Linked DNA regions of Homo sapiens: region 2 is linked to region 1. The links are contacts of gene promoters, found by promoter capture Hi-C in human tissues and cell types (Jung and others, 2019). All regions are on one chromosome and are shown on one strand. Each heading gives the region's core, a stretch centred on a gene start or on the middle of the fragment in contact. The rest is flanking DNA. Distances are from core to core; before and after follow the strand shown. Region 1 holds the start of EML3 (EMAP like 3). Region 2 has its middle 26 kb from the start of SCGB1D1.

What was found. Contacts are between HindIII fragments. The study calls those that stand out against the background at their distance.
Region 2: a contact is called between a fragment that was not itself captured here and the fragment with the promoter of EML3 in region 1, in 1 of the 25 tissues and cell types used here (dorsolateral prefrontal cortex).

The regions. Positions count from the first base shown.
Region 1 is chr11:62,610,375-62,614,814 of GRCh38, reverse strand. EML3 (EMAP like 3) reads left to right here and starts at 2,040. Exons shown (of 22, transcript NM_153265.3): 1 at 2,040-2,379; 2 at 3,219-3,390; 3 at 3,471-3,728; 4 at 3,823-3,936. The coding sequence starts at 2,358. ROM1 (retinal outer segment membrane protein 1) reads right to left here and starts at 1,558. Exons shown (of 3, transcript NM_000327.4): 1 at 944-1,558; 2 at 311-557; 3 at 1-194. The coding sequence starts at 1,533. RefSeq lists enhancers at 1,564-1,623, 2,397-2,956, 2,957-3,515 and a silencer at 1,674-2,553. The HindIII fragment of the contact is 22,621 bases long and covers 1-4,440 here.
Region 2 is chr11:62,161,956-62,166,661 of GRCh38, reverse strand. No RefSeq gene overlaps it. Among named protein-coding and RNA genes, the nearest start is that of SCGB1D1, 26 kb to the left of the region's middle. The HindIII fragment of the contact is 4,748 bases long and covers 660-4,706 here.

The sequences.
Region 1 (4,440 bases), core at 791-3,290:
GGAGGTGCTTCTCCTGGTGGGGCCTCCTCAGGTGCTGGCCTGCAGGCAACCCCTCCCTGTAGCCATGCTGTTTTCAGCATATCTTTCAGCCCACTGGGAAAGAGATAGCCCTGGGTCTCTCCTCCCGCATCAATGACCCCTCCAAGCCCCTCCAGTGCTGTTTGCAGGTACCGCAGGCCAAGGAGCACCAGAGCCTGTGGGGGAAGCAAGGGGAAAGAGTCAGGGAGAGTCAGCGGTTCCAAGAGGCCCAGGGTTGGAGGCAGGGAGGAGTCCCGGGTGGGAGGAGGTGTCAGATGCTTTGCTGACTCACCTGCAGTAGGAAGGTGACAGCCAGCATGCTACCCAGTGTGCCTGCCAAGTCCTGCAAGTGCTCCAGCAGCACCTCATGGCACCCTTGGGCCCAGAGGTTTTGGTTGGGTTGTCGGGGATCGAACAGGGGGTGGGCGTAGGAGTCTGAAAGACGGTTTTGCAGGCAAGGCCGGGGTGAGTGGGGGTTGCAACAGGAGAAAGGGACCCCATCAGTCAGGTATAGGCCTTCTACATTGCTCTGGATCCGGCTGCAAAGGGAGGGACAGAGGGGTTAGGATGTCTGGAGATAGAGGCCTGGGGGAGGGACTGAAGGGCACAGGTGTTCAGAAGGGAAAAAGAATAGTAAAACATTTACTGACTGCTGTACTATGTGCCAGCCAAGCATAATTCACATCTTCACAACAACTCTATCAGATAAGTACTATTATTTCCATTTTACAGGTGAAGGAATGGGCCCAGGGTGGTTTGGTAACATGCCCTGGGTTTCACAGCTAATAAATGGCAGAGCTGTAACCAGTCTCTCAGCCACTATGTTCTACTTATTGCCCCTCTGAGCGAGGTGGGGATTCAAGGCAGCAGGAGGGAGCCTGTCCAGGGAGGAGGAGGAGGAGGAAGGGAGACGCAAATCACTCACTCAGCCACATCCCGGTCACCGGGATCCAGGTAACGGCTGCTGACCCACTGGACCCCAAACCAATCCTTGTACCCGTGGCGCCCGCAGCAGTGGTACCTCAGTTGCAGCTCATCCACCAGCCTTTTGGCCTGACAGTGCCCAGGCACCTCTGTGTCCTTGTAGTGAGCCAAGGCAGTCACCAGGCCCTCCTCCAGCGCCTCATCCAGACTCCCAGGCAAAGCCAGGGCTAGCCCGAGGCCGACGACCAGGAGCCCCCCCCCACCAGCCGTGCCAGCCACCAGCAGCGGGCCCAGGACCCCTCGCCAGGGAGGGTATAGAGCTGCATTCAGACTTGCCCGGCTGGCTCCTACACCCACTAGTCCTGTGCCCAGAGCCACCGCGCCCGCTGCCAGGGCAGCCTGGGGCAGGACAGGGAACTGACAGGAGGGAGCCAGGAAGGTGCCAAGGTGCCTTAGCTGGACCAGGAGGTGCCCACTACAGAGGAGGATGACGCCACCAGCCAGCGCCAGCAGCCAGGAGAGGAGCCAGAGCCCTTGTGCCAGGCGGATGCGGGGCTGCAGGGGCAGCACCAGGGGCAACACCGGCGCCATCTCCCATCTCTGCCCAAGGGAATGCAGAGGTGTCAGGGATGGAAGCTGGCTGGGGCAGGATGCTGAGTCAGCCCGGCCCGGCTTGAGCTGGGCTAATGCCACCCTGACCCCAATACCCTGAGCATCCTCCCATCCTCAGCCCTAATAACCCGCCCCCCTGTCAGCCCCAATACAAGATGCCTTGGCCTTGCCCCTTACGAGAAACTCCGCCCCTAGGCCGAGGGCCCGTTTTGTGACCCCGCCCCTGCCCCTCGCGGAAGTGGTGGGGTTGGTCCGCTCAACCCTGAGGGGTTAGGGGCTGGGGGGCGGAGATATCGGGGCGGGCGCTCCCTTCCCCGTCCCCTGGGAATCCGGGGGCGGGGATCCGGGAAGGGCCTGGAGCCGGAGGCCGGGAGTAGGCCAGGGGGTCAGCCGGCTAGCCCCGCCCCCGTACTGAGCGGCGAGGCCCGGACAGGGAGGGGTTACCAAGCGGCCCGGCCCCCCCTCGGGCCCGCCCCCCCTCCCGCGCTTCCTGGCGGCTCCGCGTCCGGCGCCTGTTTGTGCTGCGGCGCTGTGGCACCGGACGGCCCTGCCACCCCACCCCCGGGAGCCGAGAGCGGCCCCGGGAGAGTCCGAGGGCCCGGGGGGGTCTGGAGACTGCGGCCCCGGGCCCACAGCGCCCCCTCCAGGCCCCTTCCCCGCGCCCGACAGCGCCCCCTCGGGGTGGTGGTACGGCGCCCTTCGCGCGCGCCCCGGGGTGCTTCCCCTTCCCCTCTCCCCGGCCGTGGCCCCCGCGGCTTAGACGCCTCCTCCGCCGCCGCCGCTCGGAGCAACCCGGGGGCCGGATGGACGGGGCCGCGGGGCCCGGTGAGTACGGGGCGGGGCGGGCGGCGTGCCCCTTCCCGGAGCGCCCGGCTCGTCGGGTTATGCCAGAGCTGGACGGCTGTCTGGAGGCGTCCCCGCGTGCTCCTCCGCCCCAGGGGCTCCGAGCATCCTCCACAGTTCCTCCGGTCGCCCTCCCTAGTTGCTTGGGTCTTGCTGTCACTTCGGGCTTCCCCAGCGTCATTCTACGCCCCACGTAACTCCGGGCCCCTCGATGTTTCCCTGCCCCCTGCGTTACTCCGGGCCTCTTCTCGTGGTATTTCAGGTCTTTTTCCTTCTGATCCCCACTGCCCCCTGAGACCTTCACTGTGACTCTGCTCACCACTCACACTCTCTCCTGTCACTCTGGATCTCTTTTCTTGTACTCTGGGTCCTCAGTATGACTCCATTCCCGCACCCCGTTCTCTCTCCTGGTGTTCCCCCGGCTCAGTTACTCAGCTTTCGCTGGAGACCTGAGCTTGCTGGGGGCGCGTGGGGAGGGCTGCGGTCCCTGCCCTCACCAGTGCGGCGCCTCTCTCTGTGGCTCCCACGTTCCTCGGCAGTACTCCATATTTCCCCCCCGGTACTCCATGGTACTCCCAGTCTTTGCGGAGGCTGAGACGGCAGCAGGAAGGGAGCTTTGCCAGGTTTCTCGCCTGCCCTGCCAGAAGGAGGCCCTTGATCCTTTACCACCGTCTCCTCCCCTCTGGACGAGCATTCAAGCCTGGGGCTGCCTGAAAGGGGCAGTCCTACCGGACACATGTAAAGTTGTGGGGAGACAGAATCCCCTCTACGCTTTCTTCAGGTGATGGGTACATTCTGAGTACCTCTTGCCCTTTTCCCAGGTGACGGCCCTGCTCGGGAGGCCCTCCAGTCTCTGAGCCAGCGGCTTCGGGTGCAGGAGCAGGAGATGGAACTGGTAAAGGCAGCCCTGGCAGAAGCCCTTCGCCTGCTGCGGCTGCAGGTGCCCCCTTCCTCCCTGCAGGGCTCTGGCACACCAGCTCCTCCGGGGGACAGGTATGCATGTCATCACACCCCATTTTTCCTCCTCCTTGGGGCCTCTGGGGCTTCAGGTTAATTCAACATCTCTCCAGCAGTCTTGCAGCCCCCCCAGGACTGCCACCCACGTGCACCCCTTCCTTGGTGAGCCGAGGCACCCAGACGGAGACAGAGGTGGAGCTCAAGTCATCCCCTGGACCCCCTGGCCTGAGCAATGGACCCCCAGCCCCTCAGGGGGCCAGCGAAGAGCCTAGCGGGACCCAATCTGAAGGAGGGGGCAGCAGCAGCAGTGGTGCTGGCTCCCCTGGCCCCCCGGGGATCCTCAGGCCCTTGCAGCCCCCACAGCGTGCTGACACGTAGGTGTCCTGTGGCCCTGTGGCGGAAGCTGGGAGGGGTGGTAGGATTGCAGAGTACAGTTGGAGGGAATGACCTTCACTATGCCCCCACCAGGCCGCGAAGAAATTCTTCCTCCTCCTCATCCCCCTCAGAGCGGCCTCGGCAGAAGCTCTCCAGGAAGGCAATCTCCTCCGCCAACCTGTTAGTGCGGTCCGGGAGCACAGAGAGGTGGGTGAGGCTTCCCCTCAACCCACCCCGCCCCAGGCGCAGGCTCTCGACTTTCCATATCCCTCACCTCACATCCCTGGTTGGGGTGGGGGGACCTGATTGCCCAACAGGAATAAAGAAACAAACACTTCTGGGGCGCCTGCTGTGTACCGGGCACTGTGCTAAACCCTCGACCTCCTCCATCTCAGTCAGTCCCCACAACATCCTTGGGGGTTAGGTGGTCTCATGCTGCTCATTGCACAGGTGAGGAAGCAGGCTCAGAGAGGGTAAGTCATTTGCCTGGGGTCACACAGCTAGAGTCAGGATTTGAACCTAACTCTTCCTGACTCCAGTTCCCCTACCCTTTCCACTACATCACAGCACACCTTCTGCGATCCCAAGAGGCTTTTCTAGAAGCTTCCATGGCTTTCATGGACGGCTGTCCCTAGAGCTTCAGCCCTCTTTCCGCTGGATCTACCAAGTACCAATCTATTAATACTTACTTCTAGAGGGCAAGAGGACATC
Region 2 (4,706 bases), core at 1,784-4,283, 450 kb after region 1:
CCCACTGGCATCAGAAAAGTCTGGGTGCTTTTGGCCAACAAGAGGCAATGGAGGGAAGCCTCTTAACATTTCTGATGTCTTGACATGCGTCGTAGCAGGCTTGCCTTAGAGCAACACCTTCGAAGTCCAGTGGAGCTTCCTGCCCGACTGCACACTCCACACAACCTTGGGCTTGAGGTTGCTTTAACTCTTTGAGTGTCACTTTCCAGAGACTTAAAATGAAGATGAAGATAATATCACCCCTCAATCAGCAAATGCGATTGAAGGTTATGGCCAACGCAACTCAACTCGCCCAGTGCCTCACACACAGTAGGCACTTTGCGATTAAAGGTTGTCATCCATATTCCCAGACTATTCCCCGGGAAGTGGTTAGACAGAGCTGGACAACAAACCCCATCTCCTTGGCCCTGACACAGGGAGTGGCAAAAGGAGCTGTAGAGTCCACATCAGGGCCAAACACAGATTTTTATTATTTTTATTTTTTGCTAAGTGACTCCAGGCAGGTGGCGGACAATTAGGGGAGGTCCCTGTTGTAATTCCCAGCCCTGCCCTCCTACCCGAGGAATGAGAGAGGATTCCCTGCATTGCAGTCTGCATGTTGACCTCATGTAGACTAACACGCCTTAGTCTACTGGAGGGAGACAGAGAACACCCTGCATTCTCTGCCCGAGTCACTCTCCTCAATCTGCTTCAGTAGAACGTGAGACACAACTGTTGAAGGCCAGCAGCCCCTGGTCCCGAGCGCGGCAGTGCCACAGTGGATGCTCTCCCACCTGAGCCCTCGGACTGGGCCTCAGTGGGTCCTGCTCCCACAAGTGTCACTGTCTCAATCCGGAGAGTGGAGCTCGTAGGAACAGGACCTCATTGCCACATTTTCTTGGCCCCTTTCATTAAAAACACTGCAATCACCTTCATGGTAAGGCTCCTCCCTGTGGAGGTCTCCTACAGAAGTAGGTGAGGACTGGTTGCTGGGATTGAAGAGAGTGGCATGGTAGCTGAGGATAATAAGGGGTACTGGGGTAAGACGGAGAGGTTTGGGGGCCACACAAGTTGTCCATCTAGGGAACGTAGAGGTCACCTAGATCAAGCCAGTGTTGCCCAAGTAGCAAAAAAAAAGAAAAAAGAAAAAAAAAGTCTGGTCTTTTTTAGCCCCGAGAGGTGTCTTTGATGAAATTCTGACCAGATGAAGCCACCATCACTGCCCTGGGCTTACACATTACCTACATACCCTAAATCAATCACTGTCTGTTTTCTGTCTTTCTCTAAGCCATAGAGCCTGCTCTCTATCTGTTAAGTCTAGGGCCATCACAAACATGCAAACAATGACACTGTAAGATAACTTGGGCCAGGTGCAGTCACTCAAGCCTGTAATCCCAGCACTTTGGGAGGCGGAGGGTAGGTAGATCACCTGAGGTCAGGAGTTCGAGACCAGCCTGGCCGACAAACATGGAGAAACCCCATCTCTACTGAAAACACAAAAATTAGCCAGGCATGGTGGCGGATGCCTGTAAGCCCAGCTACTCGGGAGGCTGAGGCAGGAGAATAGCTTGAACTCAGGAGGCAGAGGTTGCAGTGAGCCGAGATCATGCCACTGCACTCCAGCCTGGGTGACAGAGCGAGACTCCTTCTCAAAAAACAAACAAACAAACTAACAAAACAAAACAAAACAAAACAAAACAAAAAACACCACATAAGATAACTGGGGCAGAAGGCCTCTAGCCCCTAGCCCCTAGCCCCTTTCCCTACCATTCCCGCAGTAGTGGCTGCACCCCTCCAGTCCTTTCTGCTGCACCCCCAGCACCTCTGGGGCACTTTCTGAGTTAAATAATTAGTTATAGGAGTCCTCACTGGGCATAATCCATACTTGTCTTATTACAGTGTCCCAGGGGCAAGTAGGACAGGAGCCCTGCAGAGGGCTCCTGCCTCTGTTATTCTCAAATCACAACTCAAAGACACTAAACACATTCCTCAAGATCCCTTACTCCAATTCTCAAGGACCAATTCCCCACTCAACCAATCCTGCCAGGCCAGGGGCAGAGCTGGCAGGAAGAATAGAGATCCAAAAAAAAAAAAAACCGTCATAGCTTTCATGGGTTATTAGCTCCTGTTCTTTTATAGGAGCTCCTATTAGCTCCTATTCTTTTATAGGTAGAATAGTTCACCTGAAATTAATCTGATACTATCAACTTTCCTATATCATAATAGCAGAGGAATGGGCATATTTAAAGTGCAAATTAATACAGGTAGGGGTATGTGTGTGTGTATCTGTGGGCAAGTAAGATTAAAGCTTCATGGATCAGGCAACCAAACCTGAGTCAAAGTATCCATCTTCATGTCAGCTGTTTCAGGCTTAATAAACTGCAATAAAAGCAAATACCCCCACAAAGGAATGACTACTTAAAAGGCACTTTAAAAGCCCCCCTGGCCGGGTGTGGTGGCTCACACCTGTAATCCCAGCACTTTGGGAGTCCGAGGTGGGTGGATCACCTGAGGTCGCGAGTTCGAGACCAGTCAGGCCAACATGGTGAAACCCCATCTCTACTAAAAATACAAAATTATCCAGGCATGGTGGTATGTGCCTGTAATCCCAGCTACTAGGGAGGCTGAGACAGGAAAATCACTTGAACTCGGGAGGCGGAGGTTGCAGTGAGCTGAGATTGCACCATTGCACTCCAGTCTGGGCAACAAGAGTGAAACTCTGTCTCAGAAAGGAAAAAAACAAAAACAAAAAAGAACTCCCCTTTGCAAGCTGTAGTTTACTTCCTCCTTCCAGCATGCAGGGTAGATCTCTTTGGTTGAGAACATTCAAAATTACTGGACAGGAGTGGGGATGTGGTTGGGGTTGGCCATGTAAGTTACTTTCTACTTTGCTGGCTCAGAGCAGTGAGCACTGTAAGGAGTACAGAGCAGGTGCTTCAGGCATCAGGTAACTCAGCTTAGCTCTGAGTGCTGCTACCCAGGTTTCTATAGATGTCCAAGGAAGCCTCAGAATCAAGCTCCAAGAGGTTCAGATAGGAGAATAACCTGCGATCTGCATTGTTTGCAATCCCTTGGAATACAGGTTACAGCCCACTTTCCTTCTCATGCCTGCTCTTTCTTCTTTCTTAAACCTGGAGGAATGTTTGCACCATGGAAGCCCAGAGGGAAGAAAGGCTGCTATGGGTCTTGCCCCCGCAGAACTCAGCCAGCAGCCACAGTTGCTCAGTAGCAAGTGGTACCCACAGTTCAAGGCCCCAGATCCCACTGCAACACGTGGACTAGGCATGTGCTGTGAAAAGCCCAGATGGAGCCAGAAAAAAGCTGTGGCTTAGTTTACTTAAGGGAGACAGGAAAAGCCTCACATGGCAGGTAGCTAGCAGGTACTTGACAAGAGGAAATGTGCCAGGCATGCAACGGGGTGGGCTACAGTGAAGGGTGGGGTTAGCATCCATAAATGGGTCCTACTGAAGCAAGAAAGCCTGGATAATCCCAGGTTTTCTCATCTTCATCCTAACCAAGTGGTGAGGATCAAGCCCCGTTCTATTCCTGAGAATACGGCAGGATGGGCTATTTGTACCATCCCACCCCGGGGCAGAATGAAAGATGCTGAGTAACAGTAACTTTTAAAGAGCAAAAGTTTCTAATTTTGATGAAGTCCAATTGACTTTTGCTTTTATAGTTCACACTTTTGGTGTCATATGTAAAAAACCTGTGCCAAACACAAAGACACTAGGATTTTCTCCTGTTTTCTTATTTATTTATTTACTTATTATACTTTAAATTCTGAGGTACAGGTGCAGAATGTGCAGTTTTGTTACATAGGCATACATGTGCCATGGTGGTTTGCTGCACCCATCAACTCGTCACCTACATTAGGTATTTCTTTTAATGCTATCCCTCCCCTAGCTTCTCACCTGCCGACAGGCCCCAGTGTGTGATGTTCCCCTCGCTGTGTCCATGTGTTCTCCTTGTTCATCTCCCACTTATGAGTGAGAACGTGCAGTGTTTGGTTTTCTGTTCCTGTGTTAGTTTGCTGAGGATGATGGTTTCCAGCTTCATTCATGTCCCTGCAAAGGACATTAACTCGTCCTTTTTTATGGCTGCAAAGTATTCCATGGTGTATATGTGCAAGATTTTCTTTATCCAATCTATCATTGATGGACATTTAGGTTGGTTCCAAGTCTTTGTTGTTGTGAATAGTGCCGCAATAAACATACATGTGCATGTGTCTTTATGGTAGAATGATTTAAAATCCTTTGGGTATATACCCACTAATGGGATTGCTGGACAGAATGGTATTTCTAGTTCTAGATCCCTGAGGAATCGCCACACTGTCTTCCACAATGGTTGAACTAATTTACACTCCCACTGATAGTAAAAGTGTTCCTATTTCTCCACATCCTCACCAGCACCTGTTATTTCCTGACTTTAATAATCACCATTCTAACTGGTGTGAGATGGTATCTAATTGTGGTTTTGATTTGCATTTCTCTAATGACCAGTGATGATGAGCTTTTTTTCATGTTTGTTGGCTGCATAAATGTCTTCTTTTGAGAAGTGTCTGTTCATATCCTTTGCCCACTTTTTAATGGGGTTGTTTGTTTGTTTCTTGTAAATTTGTTTAAGTTCTTTGTAGATTCTGGATATCAGCCCTTTGGCAGATGGATAAATTGCAAAAATTTTCTCCCATTCTGTAGATTGCCTGTTCACTCTGATGATAGTTTCTT